Regions from separate parts of the Homo sapiens genome. Here region 2 is linked to region 1. The links are contacts of gene promoters, found by promoter capture Hi-C in blood cells and fetal thymus (Javierre and others, 2016). All regions are on one chromosome and are shown on one strand. Each heading gives the region's core, a stretch centred on a gene start or on the middle of the fragment in contact. The rest is flanking DNA. Distances are from core to core; before and after follow the strand shown.

Evidence for each region. Contacts are between HindIII fragments. The CHiCAGO score rates a contact against its expected background, and 5 or more counts as called.
Region 2: a fragment that was not itself captured here is called in contact with the fragment with the promoter of VAX1 in region 1 in 1 of 17 cell types (endothelial precursors); the score reaches 5.8 in endothelial precursors.

Annotation. Positions count from the first base shown.
Region 1 is chr10:117,136,430-117,142,055 of GRCh38, forward strand. VAX1 (ventral anterior homeobox 1) reads right to left here and starts at 1,841. Exons shown (of 3, transcript NM_001112704.2): 1 at 1,387-1,841; 2 at 43-230. The coding sequence starts at 1,627. RefSeq lists enhancers at 3,424-4,010, 4,011-4,596. The HindIII fragment of the contact is 11,137 bases long and covers 1-4,407 here.
Region 2 is chr10:116,683,407-116,688,482 of GRCh38, forward strand. It overlaps HSPA12A (heat shock protein family A (Hsp70) member 12A), which reads right to left. Exons shown (of 12, transcript NM_025015.3): 7 at 385-556. Among named protein-coding and RNA genes, the nearest start is that of HSPA12A-AS1, 16 kb to the left of the region's middle. The HindIII fragment of the contact is 3,128 bases long and covers 1-2,979 here.

The DNA of each region.
Region 1 (5,626 bases), core at 591-3,090:
GAAGGCTGGTGCAGAACTGTGTGCGGCCTGGTCGCCGGGTACCTGGGTCTCGGAGAGGTTAAGCTGCCGGGCGAGCTCGGTCCTCTCGCGGCCCACCACGTACTGGCAGCGCTGGAACTCCATCTCCAGCCGATAGAGCTGCTCCGCGGTGAAGGACGTGCGCGTCCTCTTAGGCCGGTCCAAGTCCAGGCCCTTGGGCAGGATGATCTCTCGGATGGACCCCTTGGCATCTGGGGAAGGGGAGATGTCAGCCGCCAGAACCCTCCCGTCCCCCTCCACCTCCTTGGCCCGAGCTGGATTTGGGGACACAGTCCCCAGAAGCGTGCAGTTTTGGGGATGGGGGGCGGGGTGCGGAGCGCGACCACAACCAGGTAGCAAAGACACTGTGTGGAGGGCAAGGGGCCTAACTCCATACCGCTGACCGAAGGAGGGACCACACTTTGTCTTTTTGTAGAGTCCTCCAGACAGGGGAGAGAAAAAAATCCAATCAATTCCACATAGGCGGACGTTTCTTCCGGCCTGGGGGGGCCTCGGCTGAGCCTTCCGGGTCCCCTGTAGCCTGAGGGTACCCTTGTCGCCCCGCCCGGGTCCTGCGGGCCCCAGCTCTGGGCTTGCCGACCAGACCGTGATCCAGACGTCCCCACCCCCACCCTCGAGTCTCCTTCCCTCCGGAGTCCGCGCGGCGGAAGGAGGAGGGACTGAGTCGGGGCCGGCCGGGCCCGGAGATCTGCTGCTGGCTGGGGCGGCGCCGGGCCGGGGCCCGGCCTCGCAGCCTCCGCCGCCGGGGCTAAGTGCACGCCGCGCCATCCGAGAGCGGCAGAGCAGAGCACCAAAGCGGCAACCGCGGCTCCGTAACCAAGCCCAGCTGCCTCTCCCGGCGGCAGCGGTCGGGCACCGATCGCGGCCGTGGGGTCCTCGGCCCAGTGCACTAACTGGCAGGGCCGTAGCCCGCGATCGGCAGCTGTTCTCCGGGGCTCGCGTTCCCCCTTGGGTGCGCTCAGCCCTCCAGAGCGCGGGAGTCCCCTGGCCGGCTCCCGGCAGGTCGTCCGGCCCTTGGAGCGCGCACACCTCCTCCCGGAGTTTTCTGCTCCTTTCCCGGGTCGGAGGCCGCAGCCCGATGCCCGGCCGCACCCGCGCAGCCCCTCATCTCCCCCCGCAGCCCGGTCAGCGGGGCCCCTCCGGGCGTGGAGGGCCGAGGCCCCTGGAGAGCGCACCGGAGAGTCCCAGGCGCTTGTCCCCAGCCGGACTCGGGGCGGGGAGGGCCAACAACTTTCTCCCAAGTCCCAGCCGGCACTCCTTCCCACCGGCCTGTGTCGGCGGCAGCGCGCAGCTCCGGCCCCGGAGTCGACCCCAAAGAACGCGCCTGGCAGCCCTGCCCATCCCTACCTCGGACCAGGATCCGGCGGCAGTAATCCGGGTCCGCTGCGGAATTGGATTTACTTTTGTTACAATCCTCAGCAGCGCCCGACGCTGAGAAGGCGCCCTGCGGCTCCTTGAGGAAGGCGGCTGGGAGGTTCCCCTCCGCGCCCTTGCTCTCCCGACTCTCCTTGTGCGCGTTCTTCGAGACCCGGGCAGCCTCGGCGTCCGAGTGGCATCGAACGTCCATTTTGTCTGGTTTCCCGAACATAGGCAAGAACAACAACAAAAACAGAAAGGAAAAAAAAAGCAAAAAAAAAAAAAAGGGGGGGGGGCGGAGAAGGAAAAAAAAAAGAGGAAAAAGGGGACAAAACCCCCGACAACGCGGCCCGTACGCCCGGCCCGGCGACAGGCAAGGGGCAAGAATGAATGTCCCCGCGGGGAGGCTTCGGCGGCCGCGCGCGGGTCAGCGGCGACGGGAGAGTGGCGCGCTCGCCGAGAGGCGGCCAGTCTGGTCCAGGATCCTGGTGGAGCTGCGGCGAGGCCGCCTCGTCAGCACCCGCGTCCTCTGAGCACGTCCAGTGTCCCCAGCCTGGCGATCAGGTAGCGAACAGCGCAACTCCGAAATGCTGCGGCTCCCGCCTGTTTCTGAGACGGCGAGTTGTAGTTGTCCGACACCCGGGGGGACGCACACTCGCTGTTGCAATTGATTACGGGTAATTTCGCAGCCCCCACGTTTCGGTTACCTCATGAATACACTAAATTGTTTGGATAATATATCAGATCGTAATGGATGGTTTCTGTCCTTGTCCCCAATCAAGTAGGGGTTTAGCCAGTGAATAAACGGAAATGATTGGTCTTGCTTTCAGGAAACACACAATCAAAGACCCACACTTCCAGAAAAACTTTTGACAAGATTCATCCTGAATTGTTAGTACCATTAGCAGGCATTATTAACTTTCCTTTTGCCTTTGACCCTCCTGCTCACATACTGGCTAGAGGGGTTTTCTCCACACTCGCCAGATAGAGCTGAATGAGGGTTGGGCGGCGGGGGGGTGTGGGGGGAGAAAAAAAAAACCCTGCGCACCCTGCGGCAGAAGAAAGCAGTTGTCTGGGAGTGGGGGATGGGGGACAGAGCGGGGGGAGAAAGTTTTCCCAAAAAGTATCTCCCTTGCACTCTAAAAAAGCCAAGATTTTCCCCTAAACAACTCCTTCTTAACACACCTCGACGCAGACAGCCATCTTAAACTGCCACCTCTCTTCATTTAGTTCCAGTTGGATTTTTTCATGCCTGCACCTCCAGCAGCCCTGAGGCAGCCCATTCAAAGGGCAGCTTTGTACTCAGAGTCCAGCAGGAGAGAGAGGGGGAGAGGGAGAGACGGCCGAGAAATCTCAACTGTGAGATCTGCTTCAAAAAAAAAAAAAAAAAGTTTTCCCCTAGCTATTTCATTGTCTCTGCTACAATATCTTTGAGAAAAGCAACAGCCAGTAATCCAATAAGAGCATTGATTAGGCTACAATGATTCAATTCAAGCGCATGGCCTTGTGCAAGGAGCATGCTCCAGCCCTTCTCGTCACCTTGCCGGGGCAGAAGCCCTCTCCACGCCGCTCTCCCCATTCATTCCTTTATGGGAAATGCGGAGCAAAAGGAGTGAAAGATGGCAATTATCTAATTGGACTATTAACAAACAGTCCTCTGAGTGCGGCGGTCTGGCGTGGCTCCTGGGCGGGGGAAGGGCCGTGTTCCCTGCCCTCATTCACAAAGAGTGCAGGGGCCGGGGAGGAAAGGGGTTTTTTAAAGGGGGTGGGTGGGGGGAGAGGAGAGGTGGGAGGTTTGGCTGAGAATTTTTCCACACAATTCCAAGAATGGGGCGGAGGCGGGGGGAGGGGAGGGGGTTGGGGAGGGGGTCGCGGCGAGCGGGTGGGAGGAAGGCCGGGAGGGGGAGGGGTGCGAGTGTGTGTGGCGGGCCCCTAGGGGCTCCAGCTCGCAGCGACGCGCGCACCGTCCGCACCTCCCGCCCCGCCGCCACCTCCCCTGCCTCCGCCGCCACCCCGCGGGACCCCTCTACCGTCCCAAGCCAGGAGGGGGCCCCCTGAGCGGGGTCTTTCGCGCTGTCCACCCAGCCACCCCTCCAGCCACTTAGGGGCACCCAGGTTTGGCCCAGCTCCGGAGGGCATCTCTGGCCCTGCAGGCCGACATCAGGCTTCCACTTTAGTTGACTGGGCGGAGCGGTGGAACTGTCCCGAGCTACTCTCCGCAGGGCGGCGGGTTTCCAGGGTCCCCAGCGGGCTGATCGCCCCTCAGCCCGGCTTCGCTGCGCACGCTGCCCTCGAAGTCCGACGCCGACTGGGCGCCCGGGGAAAGTGCCTTTGATTACGAGCTCTGCTCCGGCGGGTTGGTGAGGCGGGTGGGAGCAGAGACGGGTAAGAGGGGTAAGGGACTTTGCGGCCACCCTGTTCTGAAGATGTAGAGTGGGATTGTGTTAAAATCCGGCGAACTCTCCTGTTACCTCCCGCAACGCTCAAAAGCCCAGACTGGCGCCTTGAGGCACCGAGGGCTTTGCTCCCATGCGGCCAAGCCGTCGGGGGTGCAGCCGCCGGGTCTTGACTCCCACTACCGCGTCGCGGGTGCGGGTCCCTGGGATTCGGGTCCTCCTGATGGGGGTCCCTGCAGCAGATGGGGCATTCACTTCCCTGCAGAGCTCGGCCCGAGGGAGCTCCTGGGCCTCCTTGGGCAGGGAGGGGTGCGACCGAATTCCCTGGCACACCGGCCCTTCCTTGCCCCCTACCCTGGAGGGGTTGGAGGGGTCGGACCCTCGGACTACGCGAGATCGGGTGCGCAGGAGGATTCTAGGCCTTCCTCAGCCCTTTAGGAGCCCTGCAGGCGGCGGAAGTCCCAAACCGCAGCCTTGGCCCAAATGGGACCCAGATGGCTCTGGGTCCCCGGCCCGGCCGCACCCCTCTGTACGGCCTCCTTCTGTCGGTGAAGGCCGCAGCGGCCTGGGAAACCCATGCGGACACCTGCGGCGCCCGGTCAAAGACCTGGAAGAAAGCTTTTTAAAAAATAAAAATGGCCCAACCCATTACATTTTCTTTTAGGTAGATGGGGGAGCTGGGGGGCGGGGCGGGGGCAGTCAGGGAACAAACAGCTGCCCTTAGAAATGACACGCCCTGTGGGCAATGGCGGCGCTGGGACGTCTGCAGCCGCATTCACTGCCACAGAGAACGGCCAAAGTATGGCCAAATCCCAAATGCAAATTTTAAGTTTGGCCTCGGAAATTTCTGCCCTCCCTCATCTTGTGGCATATTTTGTTGTAAGGGGGAACTATTTGTTTGTTTGTTTGTTGTTTGTCTGAGACGGAGTCTCACTCTGTCGCCAGGCTGGAGTGCAATGGCGCGATCTACGCTCACTACAACCTTCGCCTCCCGAGTTCAAGAGATTCTCCTGCCTCAGCCACCTGAGTAGCTGGGACTACAGGCGCGCGCCACCACGCCCAGCTAATTTTTGTGTTTTTATTGGAGACAGGGTTTCACCATGTTGGCCAGGATGGTCTCGATCTCTTGACCTCGTGATCCGCCCGCCTTGGCCTCCCAAAGTGCTGGGATTACAGACATGAGCCACAAAGCCCAGCCTGTTTGTTTGTTTTTTAAACTTACTTATTTTTGAGACAGGTTCTCGCTCTGTCGCCCAGGCTGGAGTGCAGTAGCACCATCACGGCTCACTGTAGCCTCGAATTCCCAGGCTCAAGCGATCCTCCCACCTCAACCTCCTGAGTAGCTGGGAGTACAGACGTGAGCCAACGTGTCCAGGGGAATTATTTATGAAGCAGTCACTTACTGGATGCATAAACTCACTTAATCTGAACTCCTCCTTCAGAGATGTAGTAATATTCCGGTTTTATAGGTGAAAGAATGGAGACTCAGAGAGACGTTCAGTAACTTGCCCAAGTCACACAGACTGGTATGAGCAGAATTTGAATTGACTTCTGCCTGACTTCAAAGCTATTTATGCTCTTCTTTGCCACACCCCACAAGACTGCCCCATTTTTAGTTCCAAACCCATACTTGCTTTGAATTTTCCAAATCTTCAGGTGATCATGTGTGTATCAAAAAGACACAGAGCAATGACTTTAATGTTAATGCGAGGAATCCTTATTATTAGACATCAATTTTCACAAATTTTATCTAAACAACAGTAAGTAGAAATGGAATCATGAAATTCTTGTTTCTGATGATGCTATTTATTTCTGGCCATGAGCATTTATTAGGA
Region 2 (5,076 bases), core at 166-2,665, 450 kb before region 1:
ATAAATCAACAGTCTTAATGGAGAATTAATAACAGGCAATGGAATTAGATTAAGAATCTGTTAATACACAAGAAAGATTAAGAGCCTAGTACAATGTGAGGCCAATAACCGCTCTCAGGCTACCCTCAGATTCTTAGAGAGAAGCTCCCCGCCCCCAGACACTTGGTGGGTGATGAACCAGGGTAACCATGCCTCCATTTATGGGGGTCCTTGGAGGGGCCAGGTAGGGGGGCTGAGCAGAGAGGTGCTTAAAGCCCACCTCCTCCCGGAGTATCCTGATTCTTCATTATGGCACTAAGTGCCTTTAAAATCATCAGAGGGAGAGAGACATCCAGGGCTTGGGAAGGAAGGAGAGCAGGAGGGGGAGAGAGAGAGCAGAGGTACCCTGTGTAAACCCAGCTCCTACTGTGTCACTGCCGCTGTACCCATTGACGGCTGCCTTGCTGCTCAGCTCAATCATCTGGTGTAGCCGCAGCTTTCGGCAGTAGATAGAGGCTGCCTCAGGCTCCAAGGCAATGATGAGCTGCTCCGAGTTCTCGGGGGAGGCCAGGCCTGCCTGGAAGACAGAAACAGAGGCTGGGACCCAGGGCCCCCTGGGCCGGCCTGCTCCTAGGACACCCGTGCCTGGACTGACATCCCTAAGGAGGGCGCACTCGTGCTCTGCATCTGTGGGACATTCTCTACACAGTCCTCTGCAGAGCATAATGTCAGGGTGCCTCGGTACTGGGCCCCAAGCCAGATACCCAAACACCCCAGGGTGGCCAAAGAAAATGTATAGGCACCCTGGGGAAAACACCAGGTGCTCTGGCTGTGGGGCCTCTTGCACTTGGGGCCTCCTTGGCTCAGAGCTGAGCAGCACCATGGGGAGGAGCGGGGGGATTCCGGACTGCAGGAGGCACACGGGCTTCCATGCTCCAGTGGTGAAGGCATGGAGTTGCAGAGACCCTGAAACTTTCCAAACCATCACAGGGTGGAAGGCAGGTGATCTGTTCTCAGTTGTAATATACCACACGGTCTGACCAAATCGGAGCAAACCCCTATCTTTGGTGGCCTTGGAAACAGACCATGGCTGGGCCTCAGCAACACAAGCATTTGACTTTGCTATCTGGGTAACCGACCTGTTATCTCCAGAGCGCTAGGAGGGTTCCTGAGATTTGCCTACTGGGGGTGACAGATAAGCAGTGGCTCCAGGAGGAAGCCCCTCCTGGAATCCCATATAGTCCCTCATTTTCTAGAGTGCGGTTGAGTCAGCAAGAAGATATCTTATTCAAAGCCTCCACCCTTTAATAGTTTTATTATAGACATATATCACATATAGTAATAAATATTCCTTTAACAATCTGATCCCCAAGTTCTCATCTGTGGCTTCCATCTGCAAACATTTGGGGCCTTGGCCTGTAGTAGGCAGAAGTGCTTCTGCTCTGTGACATCTGACCAGTCCCAGTCACCACTCCTGTGGGCCTTCAGAAGGGCCAGCTCAAGAGGCCCTGGGACAACCCTTCTGAGGATGCTCAGAGAAACAGCATGGCTGGGCCTCTAACCAGGTCCCTGGCACCTCTCATGGCCTTGAGCTGCAGCGGGAGGCCCCACTTGCTTCTGGAAACCATTCAGGTACACGGGTGTCCTCAGTTGCCAGCCCGATGGACCACGGAAGAACACTTCATCCCTGCCACTGCCGTGGTGCTGACTTTTTGCCATTTCTTAGGAACCTTGGGATGCTGCCTTCATACCATGCCTACTGGGAGGAAGGCCTCAAGTTCTGTATCAGACCCCTGGGGTTTAGTGCATTCTTCTTGCAGACCAGGTTCAGAAGGTCTCCTAATGTCACACACTCACAAATAACTTCTCATCAGGCGAAGTCGGCCTCATCATGGGCAGAGGGGCTTGGGAGGTCCAATTACTGGGCAAGGAGGGAAGGGGATTTTCAGGTATTAAGAATGCAAAGTGGCCAGGCGTGGTGGCTCACACCTATAATCCCAGCACTTTGGGAGGCTGAGGCGGGCAGATCACCTGAGGTCTGGAGTTCGAGACCAGCCTGGCCAAGATGGTGAAACCCCGTCTCTACTAAAAAAAAAAAATAGCTGGGCATGGTGGGGGCAGTGCCTGTAATCCCAGCTACTCGGGAGGCTGAGGCAGGAGAAATGCTTGAACTTGGGAGGTGGAGGTTGCAGTGAGCCGAGATGGTGCCATTGTACCCCAGCCTGGGTGACAAGAGTGAAACTCCATCTCAAGAAAAAAAAAAAAAAAAGAATGCAAAGGACCTTCAGAGCTATTTATCAACTCCTTCACTTTATGTAGAAAGAGAGGGAGGGTGGCCCACTGTCCCAGTTTGCTCAGGATAGAGAGATTTCCTGGGATGTGAGACTTTCAGTGCTAAAACTGATACTACCAGCAGGCAGGTGACTGAACATCTTCACTCTGTAAATACCAAATGCCTCAAAATGGCAGAACCACATCTGGAAGGCTGACTTTATAAAACCAGATAAGAACCACCACTCTCGTGTCCTGCACTGTCCGTGGCGAACCCTCTTCCCATCACCTAGTACCCTCAGCTACGGCCAACCACCCGGGCAGCATCAATGCCTGTCAGCTCAGCCCATGGGTCAGAGAAGCTGGGTCTGCCCTTAGGTGACATCGGTCAACAGGGCCCTGACTCAGGTGCATGACAGGATTTCCCACTGCCCCCTATTCAAGCAAGTAAAAGTCCCCCCTCCCCAGCTTCACTCTCACAGGGTCACATTAGACATCCTTAGCACAAACATGGCTGGAGGTTAAAGTGAAAGAGGATGTGGCTCTCACACGTATGGTGCCCTCGGGAAAGGTGAAACCTCTGAGCCTGGATCCCAAGGGGTCGGGAGGAAGAAATCCCAAATAAGACCAAGAGGGGCCCCTTCCGAGGGACAGCTCCTGTGCTGATTCTTCCATCCTTGAGGTTGTGGAGTCAAGGACCTCCCAGGAGCATAGAAGGTCCAAGGGGGAAGCTTCCACAAAACGGGGTGAGGAAGAAGGGACAACTTGCTGCAAAGAAACTGCCAGGCCTGTATGTATACAATTCTCCTCCAAAGTTCAAACTTGAAAATAAACTGGGGATGGCAGTAGACCCATGAGTGGAGCCCAAGGAGTTGGTGTGAAGGAAGAAAGGCAAAGACCCAGACGCTACATTACGGTTACCATGTCCCACTGGGATGTCAGCCTGCCAGGTGGGACTTGTGGCAGTGAGGCCCCCACAGGGCCAGAAAAAGCAAGGTGGGCCTGGGCCACGGCAGCAGGGACAGGGATGGGAAGGGAGAAAGGGTGGCATAAGCTCCGCCCCTTGTCCCCTCTTCCCACACTGTAAGTCCCACTCCTCATCCCTCTTCCCACACCATAAGTTCCACCCCTCATCCCTCTTCCCACACCATAAGCTCCACCCCCACCCCTTCCCAAACCATAAGCTCCACCCCTCATCCCTCTTCCCACACCATAAGCTCCGCCCCTCATCCCTCTTCCCACACTGTAAGCTCTGCCCCCATCTCTCTACCCACACTACCCCTGAAATTCTGAGCAGGAACTCTGACTTAGATGGGAAATCTTTATATGGAAATTCAGATCCAGCAGTCTAGAGGGGTGAAGAGCCCTGGGTAAAATTCTACAACTCGAGGGCATCCGAGTGTGCCTGGTGTGCAACTGAAAATCCAGCAGAACTGTCCCCCGCCCAGGACACTCTCACATCCTGAAGACACTGAGGCTGCCCCAAGTCTGTGGAAAACAGCTTGGGCTGGCCACTCAGGGGAGACCTTTCATCTGTCCCTCTCCAGCTGGGCTGGCCTCAGCTCCACAGCAAAAGCTTTGGCCTGTTTCCATAGGGGGTTCCCCACTGTACCAAGATGAGGATGCAGGTGGGAAGCGAAGGTGAAGAGGACCCCACTCCTGAGCAGAGGAAAAGGCAAGGTCATGGGCCCAGGCAGTGTCTGGGAGGCCTCGGACAAAGTAACCACACTTCTTTGCTTGAACCAGCTCCTGTCCAGTGAGGGGCCGTGTCCTACCTGCAAACTCCCATGGAAGCCACAGTAGAGAGCTGAGGAGAGGTGAGAAGAGGCAGCGGACTCTGCACAAATTCAACCTCCCCAGGAGTCCCAGAACTGCTGTGGACTCCGAGAAAAGGAGGAAATGCTAAAGTATCGCCCAGGCTCTCAAAAACCCAGCTGTCTTTCTCTCTGGGCAGGAGGACTCAATGCTTTCAAGTGCAAGCTTTGTTTCTGCATTAACACTTGCAGCCACCCTCAACAGAAGCCCTCCACTTGGCAGCCCTCAGCAAACCTATGGGTCTGTTTGCCTGGGATCAGGCCAGGGTCAACTGCAACCACAGAACACTCTCCGTCTTTGCTAATTCTGCCTTCAGAGAAGGTGCCTCATGGTTACTACTCCCACGTGAGCCCTCCCTCCACTGGGGCCCCTGCCAAGCACTTAACATATTCCGTCTCCAGTCCTATACGCCAAGCTTGTCCAACCCATGGCCCACAGGCCACATTGTGGCCCAGGACGACTTTGGATGCAGCCCAACACAAATTTGTAAACTTTCTTAAAACATGATGAGTTTTTTTTTGCGATTTTTTTTTTAGCTCATCAGCTATCATTAGTGTTAGTGTATTTAATGTGTGACCCAGGACAATCCTTCTTCTTCCAATGTGGCCCACGGAAGCCAAAAGATTGGACACCCCTGTTATTAACGGTGCAGACATGTGTAGCCTCTCCTGCAGGATGGTGGATTTTCTAACAGCAACGCTCAGTTCTTCTTGCCCCAAAGCACACAGTAGGTGTTCAGGAGGTAGCTGCTGAACGAATGGACCCACCAGCCCTCCAGCCAGCCTTTTTTCCTGCAGTTTCCTGGCCCTCATCCCTGCATTCCACAGACATGACCTGGGGATTCTACATACAGGAAGTATCTGAACCAAGAGCATGCTTCCCCATTTGCCTCCTCCAAGAATTCGGGGCAGCAGGAGCGACATCGTAGTAGCTTTTTAGAGCCTTCCTCTGTGATCACGAGTTTCACTCAGGAGAAGCAGGTGAGAAAACCACACTCCAGGGAGACTGAGA